2 separate regions of the Homo sapiens genome follow, and region 2 is linked to region 1. Evidence: promoter capture Hi-C in human tissues and cell types (Jung and others, 2019). All regions are on one chromosome and are shown on one strand. Each heading gives the region's core, a stretch centred on a gene start or on the middle of the fragment in contact. The rest is flanking DNA. Distances are from core to core; before and after follow the strand shown.

The links. The method cuts DNA at HindIII sites, captures the fragments that hold promoters and counts their contacts. A contact is called where the count stands out against the background at its distance.
Region 2: a contact is called between a fragment that was not itself captured here and the fragment with the promoter of SOCS1 in region 1, in 1 of the 25 tissues and cell types used here (heart right ventricle).

What each region holds. Positions count from the first base shown.
Region 1 is chr16:11,252,882-11,258,373 of GRCh38, forward strand. It overlaps SOCS1 (suppressor of cytokine signaling 1), which reads right to left and starts at 3,323. Exons shown (of 2, transcript NM_003745.2): 1 at 3,198-3,323; 2 at 1,536-2,647. The coding sequence starts at 2,597. The coding sequence ends at 1,962. All of the region lies in intron 1 of LOC105371082 (a long non-coding RNA gene), which reads left to right. RefSeq lists an enhancer at 1,189-1,358 and silencers at 1,969-2,058, 2,469-2,618, 2,629-2,678, 2,779-3,518, 3,769-3,968. The HindIII fragment of the contact is 22,451 bases long and covers 1-5,492 here.
Region 2 is chr16:11,448,486-11,453,977 of GRCh38, forward strand. LOC400499 (putative uncharacterized protein LOC400499) reads right to left here. Exons shown (of 67, transcript NM_001370704.1): 29 at 2,124-2,335; 30 at 434-622. Among named protein-coding and RNA genes, the nearest start is that of RMI2, 110 kb to the left of the region's middle. The HindIII fragment of the contact is 4,697 bases long and covers 1,146-5,492 here.

The sequences.
Region 1 (5,492 bases), core at 2,073-4,572:
CGTTTTCCCATCTGTAAAATGGGGCCAGCACAGCCACTGAGTGGTCACTAAGGGTCTGTGAGTATACTAGTATTACAACCAGATCCCCAAGCATTGCCATCTTGGATTTCTGTTTCTCCAGACACTGCCCACAGCAGGCAACAGACAGGAAAGAACAAGGACAGGACTTAATTAATCCACAGCAGAGAAGAAAGGGCAGGGGTGTGGCAAAAAAAAAAAAAGAAAAGAAAAGAAAAGAAAAGAAAAGAAAAAGCAAGATTTTTGGAGATAGAGACAAGACATCACCTCCTTCCCTCCCACTTCACCTTATTAAGGGATGAAATTGCCAAAGCTCTCTGAGATCCTAAATCTCTTCTGGCCATCCTTAAAGTCCTGGAGCCTACTTAATCCCCAAGACAGGCCTGGGCTGCTCTGACTCTCTGACCATCAAGTTAATTTTATGTTGTACTTTCAAGTCTGAAAAGTATTATTAAGCATTAGAACACTATTATATGTGTCTCCAAGGCTGAAGAGGGCCACTCTATCTTCTAAAGATGAAGTATGACGTGTCCACCAGGCTGCTTAACCCTAAATCTGAAAATGACTCAGTTCACCATGTGTTGAGTACAACCCTCAAGTTACCACCATGGCCCATGTGTCAGGCTGGCCAAAGACACAGAAGTTGCCAGAAACCCAGGTCCTGGACACTTTCTGGTGCTGTGGGCCAGCCCCACAAACGTCCTGGAGCCACTCTTCCCTTCCCTGGCTCCTGAAAACATCCACCTCCTCTATGATGCGCAGAAAGTTGCCCTTAGAAAGGTGGAGGCCCAGGGAGGCAAGGGGAATTGCCCTAGCCGCCAGCAGCACCCTCCCGCCACCACAGACCACACAGTCTCCTTCTGGCTCCAAGTTGTGTGTTCACCAAAAAGTACACAAGACAGAGCAGGGTGAGAAGAAGGAAGCTAGACCCAGCCCTGTATCCCCCATCTCATCTCAACTGAGTATCCCTTGATGCTGGTTCAGAATGTGCCACTCCTCTGTCCAAAAACTCACTAAGCCCCCACCCCCACCCCTTCCTGGAAGCTGTTGTGGTCATAGAACCAAAGAAGTTTCCTCTCTGTTATCCATTTCAAGCAGATGTTTAGTGGACAGCCAAAAAAAGGCCCAAGTGTTGTCTTTGACAGGAATGGCCACAGGCAGATTTACTCAGTTTTCCCTTCTGTAGAATGGAAATAAGAGCCCGTGCCTCACAGGGTTGTGCCTCTCTTTATAGGATTAAGTAAATTTAAGTATGCAAAGCACAGAATTAGGGCTGGCACGCACAAAGTGCTCAAACGCGAGCTGCTGTCTTACCGGACACACGCCAAAACTAGACCAACCGTTTCTCTCCCTGGAGAGTTGTGGGTGGAACCGTGAGGGATGCCCAGCCACAGGGCAGGCCCCGTACACCACCTGCAGCCCAGCAGGTCAGCCTTAGGACCCTCTCCCCTGGACCTGTTCAGAACCAAGTTAAACTTTTGGCCAAAGCACACTCGCTAGAAAACTTATTTTTTTTTAAAAAAAAAACTTTCATAATAAAGTTTATTACCTAAACTGACTTTAAAAAATATAAAATAGGATTCTGCACAGCAGAAAAATAAAGCCAGAGACCCTCCCCCAACCCCTGGTTTGTGCAAAGATACTGGGTATATGTAAACATGAAGAGGTAGGAGGTGCGAGTTCAGGTCCTGGCTCCAGATACAGTTAAGCTGCTACAACAACCAGGGGGACCCAGAGGGAGCACCAGGAGGGGGAGGACCCCCTCAAGAGGTGAGAAGGGGTCTGCGGCCTCGTCTCCAGCCGAGGGCGGGAGGCGCCTCGCCCCTACACCCATCCGCTCCCTCCAACCCAGGCCGGGGAGGGTACCCACATGGTTCCAGGCAAGTAATAACAAAATAACACGGCATCCCAGTTAATGCTGCGTGCACGGCGGGCGCTGCCGGTCAAATCTGGAAGGGGAAGGAGCTCAGGTAGTCGCGGAGGACGGGGTTGAGGGGGATGCGAGCCAGGTTCTCGCGGCCCACGGTGGCCACGATGCGCTGGCGGCACAGCTCCTGCAGCGGCCGCACGCGGCGCTGGCGCAGCGGGGCCCCCAGCATGCGGCGCGGCGCCGCCACGTAGTGCTCCAGCAGCTCGAAGAGGCAGTCGAAGCTCTCGCGGCTGCCATCCAGGTGAAAGCGGCCGGCCTGAAAGTGCACGCGGATGCTCGTGGGTCCCGAGGCCATCTTCACGCTAAGGGCGAAAAAGCAGTTCCGCTGGCGGCTGTCGCGCACCAGGAAGGTGCCCACGGGCTCGGCGCGCAGCCGCTCGTGCGCCCCGTGCACGCTCAGGGGCCCCCAGTAGAATCCGCAGGCGTCCAGGAGCGCGCTGGCGCGCGTGATGCGCCGGTAATCGGCGTGCGAACGGAATGTGCGGAAGTGCGTGTCGCCGGGGGCCGGGGCCGGGACCGCGGGGCACGGCCGCGGGCGCGCGGGGGCCGCGGGCGAGGAGGAGGAAGAGGAGGAAGGTTCTGGCCGCCGTCGGGGCTCTGCTGCTGTGGAGACTGCATTGTCGGCTGCCACCTGGTTGTGTGCTACCATCCTACAGAAGGGGCCAGCCGGAGGGGTGGGCCATAGCGTCCGGGGGTGCGCTGCGGGAGAGACAAAGAGGTGAGCTGGGGCGCTGCGGGGCCGGGCAGGTGTGCGCCGGCCGGACAACTCCGGAGGGCGGCGCTCCCGGCGGACCCGGCCCTAGGGGGCGAGCACGGAGCACCAAGTCCGCGCGGATCCGTTCAGCCTCAGTGGACACAGCTAGAAAATGGGCTCTGTACTCCGCGGAGCTCTTCCCGGCGGGTGGGGGCTCGGTGGAGGCGGAGTCCGGCCTCCGGGCAGCACCGAGAGGGGGGCGTGGAGAGCAGCCGGTTCTGGCTCCAGCCGTCCGGCCCCGGCTCGCCGCCCCGCGCCCGCCGCCTGCTGGCCAGGCTGGGATCCGCGCCTGGTCTGGGCGATTTGGGCTAGGGCCGGAGAAAGGCTGTGCTGCGGGAGCCCCGCGCGCGGGGGGCGGCCTGGGTGGGGCCGGCGAGGGTCAGGGGCATCGCGGCCGCGACCCCATTCTGCAGCCCCCGAGGCTCGCCCGACTCCTGGCTGCCCTGGACTCCCCTCCCTCCTCCCTCCCGCCTCCTCGCCCAGGGCCCGGCTCACCTGGCGGCGGGGCGCGGGACGCCGCGGGCGGGACGGCGGGGGGCTCCGGGGCGCTCCGGGGCGGCTCTCGCGCATGCTCCGGGGCCAGGAGCCGTGCAGCTGCCACGGCCGCAGCTCGCTCTGTTCGGCGCCCGCCCCTGCGCCAGTCTTTTAAACCGGCTCGGAGGCGGGGCTGGCGACGGCGGGAGGCCCCGCCCCCTGCCGGCCCCGCCCCCAGCTCCACTTTTGGTTTCTCTTTCCGCGGTGGCGTCCGGCGAGGACCGCTTCGGCCCTGTTTCCCTCTCTTCTGGACCCTCCCGCGGGGCCCTCTGCCCGCCTGTTCGCACCTGCCCCAGCACCCGCCTCTCGAGGGGCTCTGGCCCCGACCCTGCGCCTTCCGGCCACTTCTCGGACCCCTCCTTCGGACTTGGCGACCCCGATTTTGCCCCGCTACCTCGGGTTCCACTTTCTGCCGCCAGGCCCTCTTGGGACGCGCCCTGACACACCCTCCTCCGCCCCAGCTGTCTCCACACCCGCCGGGGGCAGAGCCCTGTCCTCTCCTCCCCTGCAGCCAGATCCCCCTAGGAGGCCACAGAAGGTGTCCCCAACCCTGAGCCTGACCCCACCCGTAGACCCCCTCCTAGCCCCTGCTCCACCCGCCGTCGACGCCCTCAGTCGCCCGCCCTGCTGTCCCGAAGCCCCGGCCGGCCGCGGTCTCTGGTCTTGGCTCGGGCTTCCCGGGAAGCGGCGGCCTGACCACAGGCTTCAGAGGAACCCCTGGCGGCGCGGGCGCCTCCACCCCGGCCCAGTTCCTCGGAAACTGGGCGGGGCCGGGCAAGGTCCCTGGTGGCCTCGACTGCCCTCCCTGCGCTCCCACTACCCGGCTGCGGAAGAAACTGAGGCTGGGGAGGGGCTGGGATTTGCAATGGCTTGCAGATTGGGAGCTCTGGACCTGGATCTCGCCTTCCCCGTCTTCATTTTGGGGAGAGGTGCAGCTGGACGACATCAAATTGGAGCCCAGTGAAAAAATGGTGCATTCTCAGACGTGATGAATCCCCAAACCTGGTTTCCTAGCCCTCCTCTCCCCCGACCCCTTCCTCATAGATTTCCCCCTCCTACTGCTCCGTCAGGCATCTGCCCTTCAAAGACTGCCTTCCCACCACACACACGGCCGGGGCTTGGGATGGTGGGCGGTCGGTGGTCGGGGCTGTAATTTGCACACGTGTTTGTGATTTAGTGATTCCGATTGTCGTGCGAGGCCATGGAGTAGGTGCCTGGCTGCTCCGTGTATTTTTGAATGAAGGCATGTGAGGAGCCCCAGCATCACAAGGGGCCACATAAAAACCTGGCTAGGCTGGGCACTTGGTTACTGGCCTCACACTGGGACACACTGCCCTCTACAGACAGCTCTCAGACGGCTTCTCTCCTGGAAGCCCTGGTGCCCAGTCCCTTCCCGCCTCCCTGGCCCCACGATACCTCTTTCCCCAGGCAGAGCCTAGGTCCTTATTAACCTCCTGAACACAGGGAGTGGCCCAGAATCAGCCCAGCTTAGCACCCCATCAGTGCCCTGAATCTGCATGTGGCCAGGGCTGGTGGTGGTCATTGGTGTAGCCTCCTAGGTTGTGCGTGTGTGTGCGTGCGCGTGCGTGAGGGGGTGAGAGAAGATGCAGAACCTTGCCTGCACCAGAGGTCAGGTGTGTGATCATTCGAGAGATGTCCACTGAACATCTGCTGGAGGCCACACTCTGTGGAGGGTGATGGAATACAAGGAGACCCAGTTCCAAATCTGCACCTTTCTATTCTTGTGACCTTGAGCATGTAATTAACCTCTCTGCCATGGTTTCTTTATCTGTGAAATGGGGATAATAATAGTACCTCTAGCAGGGCGCAGTAGCTCATGCCTATAATCCCAGCACTTGGAAGGCCAAGACAGGAGGATTGCTTGAGCCCAGGAGTTTGAGAACAGCCTGGGCAACAAAGTGAGACCCCCTCTCTACAAAAAAAAAAAAAAAAAAAAAAAAATAGTACAAAAATCAGCCAGTCGTAGTGGATTGCACCTGCAGTCCCAGCTACTTGGGAGGCTGAAGCAGGAGGATTGCCTGAGCCCAGGAGGTCAAGGCTGCAGTGAGCCACGATTGTGTCACTGCACTCCAGCCGGGGCAACAGACTAAGACCCTGTCTCAAAAAAAAATAAATAAATAGTACCTCCATCCCGGGGTTGTATGGGAATTAAATGAGTGATTATGGGTCAGGTGCTTAAAACAGCCCGTAGTGTCTAATAAGCAGTCGGTAGATGTTTGTTGTTCATCTGAGGGT
Region 2 (5,492 bases), core at 2,244-4,743, 200 kb after region 1:
CTGGGAAACAGCAATACCTCGTGTCTGCTAAAACAAACAAACAAACAAACAAACAAACAAACAAACAAACAAACAAACAAACGTCAGTGATGCATGGTGGCATGAGTGGCATGTGCCTATAGTTCTAACTACTTAGTAGGCTGAGCGGGGAGGATCCTTCAAGCCCAGACATTCGAGGCTGCAGTGAGCTATGACAGCATCACTGAACTCCAGCCTGGGCAACAGAATGAAACTGTCAAAAAATATATAAGAAAAGAAGGAAAAGGAAAAAGGAAAAGGAAAGAGAAAGAGAAATAGAGGCTCCAGGAGGCCCAAGGTCACAGGCCAAGCCAGTAGCACAAAGCCCTTTTCCATCCGAAGCAGGGAGAGAGGTAGGAAACCGAGGTGAGGGATTCGGTGGTCTCTTGGCTGCACGGGCCTCCTGGGTTCTTACCCACTCCAGGTGCCTGTAGGCCGCTGTTAGGTTCAGCTCCTGCTGGGGGCCTTTCAACCAGCAGTTCAGGATCTTACGGTCCCGGCTGTTCTCAGCATGGATCTCGCCCTGCACTGCTGCGTTCCAGGCTGACTCGAGTTCGCTCCAGCTGTGGAAGAGGCTCTGTGCCAAGACTGTCACTGTGGAAACCTGCAATGAGGTGAGGAGGGGGACCAAGGCCTTTGCACACCCTATTTCCTCCACCTGGGATACCCTTTCATCTCTTTCCTGCTTGGTGAACTCCTCTTCATCCCTCAAAACCCCTTCAATGCCATTTCTCTGACGCCTAACCTGACTGGTGCAGGTAGGCTAGTTTTCTCTACAGGGCCTTGAAACAAGAAGAAAAACTCCTCTCTGTTGCCCCAACCCTGAGCAGAAATAATTTCCTTTTCTCCTCTTCAGTTTGGGGAGGGAATCTGATCTTGTTGGGCCGCTATTACTAGTAGCCAGGGTGTCTGTACCCTGAAGGGCACATGCTGGCAGGTGGCCTTCTCTCCCTGCACCATCACCATGGTCTTCGGGAGTCCTAGGAAGAGGTGGGTGTCATCTGGCTCGTTTCAGAGCTAGGGGAGGTAGGGCATTTGCAGCCGCCACCCTGGCACAAGCCCCCCATGGGATGGTTCCCTGTTGGCCACCATCCCTTGTTCACACAACTCAGGGGTCTCACCAGGAGAAGTGACAAGGACAAGACAGGGTTTGGGCGTGGCTGAGCCTCCAACCCAATACCAGAACTTCGTAACACTTTGTCCCATGTCACTGATCCTTGGTTCCCCACCATCAACTTCCCCATTTCCTAGAATGGCACTTCCATCCCACCAGATGCTTGGGCCAAGACCTCAGAGCCATTTATTTCCTTTCCTTCACTCCTTCCCCACCACTAGTCCATCAGCAAATCTGGCATCTCCAGGATCTGGACACTTGCCGGCACCTCCACTGCCACCACCCCGGGCCAGGCCGCCATGCCCTCTGGTTGGGTGAAGGGCAGGAGCCGGCTAGCCGACCACACCTTGCTCTCCTGTCTTGGCATCCTCTGTTACACAGAGGCCTCCTCATGGTCCCTAAGATTACCACCGCTCTTGACTCCAACCTGGTGCCACCCAGCCCTGCCTCAGAGGGGACTGTGCTGCCCTCGGATGAGCCCAATCAAGGCCCAGACCTTCCCCACATCCACGCATCACCCAGACAGTCCACCCACCAGGCTCCCTCAGCCCTGCAGATGACACTCATGGCTTTTCTCCCAAACCTGTTCTTGCTTCTGCACCAAACGTGTGCAGAGAAGCAACATCATGACAGTCAGTAGTCGGCATCAAACCGACTTACGTCCTAGAAATTTTCACTCTGTTTTTTTGGCAAAAGCCGAATGTCCATCTGTTTCCAAAGTCCCGTTTGACTTGCTTTCCTATTTTATATTTCTCTCCCCGTCATCTGCCGAGCAGGGATGTGGGAAATCTAGATTTTCTTTTTTTAGGTCTAATTCTTCTACGTCACTTAGGAACTAAACTCTGATAGTTGCAGGCACTGGGAGGGCCAGACTTCACACACCTGTGAGCTGCTATCTGCCCACAGACCTCAGCTTTCATCCGCCTCTGCACCAGAAAAAGATCTCAGTGGCAGGGGACCAGACATATATCGGGGGCCGAGCACTGCTCACCCGGAGGTAGGTGGTAGCTGCGGTGTAAACCTGGATCTTGCCTTCCCTGTTGGGGCCCTGACTCCTGCAGCCCACGCTGACCACCAGGTCCTTTAGGGTCCAGGCCTTGCCCAGCGTTAGCTCCAGGACAGCCTGGAACACAGCTCGGTGTGGCCAGTATAGCCTGTGAGCTGCAGAGACCATCAGCCATGGACTATCCAGGTTCAAGGCTCCTGCAAGCAACAAAGAAGGAGAATCTGGTACACGGGGTAGAGAGGAAGCTTCTAGCAGGCAGCTGGAGGTCCCGAGAGTCTCATCACAGCCGCAATGGACAAATCTCAAAACTGGGAATAACTAGGCATGAGGGAACTTTCTAGGACGTTGGTAATGTTGTGACTCATGACAGGTGTTTGGATCACCCAGATGTATACACCTGTCAAAACTCATCCAATCGCACCATGGAGATTTATACATTTCACTGTGCTTAATGAAACACATGCTGAAACGTTTAGGAGTGAGAGGTATCCATGTCTACAATTTACTTTCAACTGCACGGAAAAAATAAGAGGGCTGGATATGCAGAGAGAGAGGTGATGAGGCAAGTGGGGTCAACTGTTAATAGCAGAACCTAGTATGAGAGGATGCTGGTAATCACTGTACCATTCATCCAACTCTTCTGAATGCAATTTTTTCATAATAAAACATTGGAAGGTCAAGCGCAGTGGCTCATGCCTGTAATCCCAGCACTTTGGGAGGCCAAGGCAGGAGGATCACTTGAGTCTAGGAGTTTGAGTCTAGCCTGGGCAACAAAGCGAGACCCCATCTCTACAACAAATACAAAAATTAGCCAGGCACGGTGGTGCTCACCTATATCCCAGCTACTTGGGAGGCTGAGGTGGAGGCTGCAGTGGCTGTAATGGTGCAATGCACTCCAGCCTGGGCAACAGAGGGAGACCCTGTCTCAAAACAAACAAACAAACAAACAAACAAACAAAAAACCAAACAAAAAACACAGGTAGAAATGCTGAGGGCTGTGAAGAAAAACAATAAAGAAGGAATTTGATAAAAATTGGTTAGGTCAGCAAAGGCTTCTAGGAGGAAGTGACAATTTACCTGATACCTAAATGACAGACAAGGGGGAGTTGATCAAAGGGGCAGGCAACCCACCCCTGCTGGAGACAGGAGATTTACTGTCTGGGGAAACTGAGGCAGACAGGCTCAGATGCAGGGACAAAGACACAGTGACGGGAAGGAGGAGCCGCGGAGTTGAGAATAGGGAGACATTGAAGAGTGGGCAGTCTGGTCCCTGCCCAGTTGCTCCCTTCCCACGGGAAGCGGGAAGATGGCACCACAGAAGAACAGAAGGAACGCACGGATCCCTGGAGAGCCAGGTCCCCACCCAGTTGCTTGATTGACAGGGAAACCCACCGGTCTGCACATGCCCCACCTATGTATAGCGCCTCTTTCCAAACAAGTTTTGAGTCTCCAATTAGTTTTCTATTTCATTCATGTTCTTTCAAGGTGATAAAGATCTTATTTCACTTTATAGATCACAGTTGTGATCTGGCAAACTCAGGCCCTCCAGAACATCTGTCTGGTTGCTCAGTTTTTTTGTTTGTTTTTTTTTTTTTTTTGCTTTTGAGGTCATGGTCATTCATTTATTTCTCATTACATTGGGCTGGGCCAAGAGTCATGCGCCAGTGTATAGATTATGTTATTCTGTTGCTTTCAGACAGAATTGGGATCCAGGTTCTAATTGTCTCCCAAGTTCAAGACCTGGATCAGAACCAGAAGAGAGTGGCCACTGCTGCGGGAGGCTAGGGGCTGCTGGAGGAAAGGCAGGAAACAGACCTAGAGCTGACCACACGCGGGGTTCATGATCAAGGGCGCCCCTCTGGGTACCCGAGGATCCTGCACACAGCTCATGGGTCAGGGAGCCCACAGCGGCCCCTCAAAGTGAATGGGGATGGCACAGGCCTGGGTTTGGAACTCCGGAGCTGGAAGGACAACTGCATCTGCCCAGGCAGGACCTGAAAACATGTTGTCCTTCCATTTGTATCCCAAAATCCTGTGTAGAGTCTTTCCATGAGGACAGGGCCAGGGCTGGCTCCTGGGCCTCTGGGTGGCCTCATGGGTCATTCAGTAAAAGTCCTGCAAACTTGTCACCATCTGGGGACATTCCTGCCAGTTCTTCTCCATGCCCTTCTGTGTGAGACACTGGGCAACTGCTTTAGGCCATTCCTGATTCTTCTTCCTCAACTCTTCAATTTCAGAAGATTTCTAATCTTTTAGGAAGCTCTGGATCTCCAGTTACTCCAAAGGTGAATTAACTGGTCCGATGAGTTTTCTGGTTCTTGGTTTCTTTTTCCTTTTTTACTTCCTGAGGGCTTCTAGTCATTTTAGTCAGATGTCTCACTTTCTCCACTTTTATTCCTGAGTTTTCTCCTGGGATCCTTTTTACGGCAGCCTTAGGGCCTAATCCTGGGTTGGCAGAGAACTAGCACTCACTCTCCCCTAATGGGATCCAGGAGAGTCAAGAGGTGGCCAAGTGTGGAAATGTGTTCTCTCCTCTCTGTTTCAGCGGGTCTCTTACTCGAAGTTTCATAAAAGGATTTTAAGGAGAATAGATTTTTTTAAATCTGTGCTCCAGAATATCAGATCCCTAACTTTGCTAAACTGCTGGTTTTAATTAAGTCCTCAGGCAGCTTCTGAGTACACTGAAAACATAATTACCCTGTTTGAAAACAGGGTAACCAATATTTTGAGCAGCCGACTCAAGCATAAGCACATATCCAAGGCTGGCTTAGCATTTGGGGGAAAGCCTCCAACAGGAAATACAGAAATAAAAAGAAAAAGGAAACTCCGAGGCAACAGATAAAACTCCCTGAAATTCTGTAACTTATACTCTAAGAGAAGACAATTGCATTCATGGAACAGGACGCTGTAAGAAAGGAACAACAACAACAAAAAAGAGCTCTTGAAAATATAAGATAATCCAAAATAAAAATGCTAGTAGAAGGGCTAGCATATGAAGTCGAGGAAATCGGCTCTTGAACAGAACCAAAGGACAAAGAAATAGAACAAAAGAGAAACAAGGAGGCCAGGTGCGGTGGCCCACACCTCTAATCCCAGCACTTTGGCAAGCAGAGGCAGGACGATCACTTGAGCCCAGGAGTTTGAGACCTGCCTGGGCAACATACTGAGACCCCATTCTCCAAAAAAAAGAAAAAGAAAAAAAGAAAAACGAGTTTGAAAAGAGAAACAGAGAAAACATTAGAAGCTCAGTTTTCTGAGGACCAACATCTAACCAATAGGAATTTCAGAACAAAGAAAGGAAATTATCAAAGAAACTGTAAGAGAAAATTACACAGACCAAAATGACATGTTTCC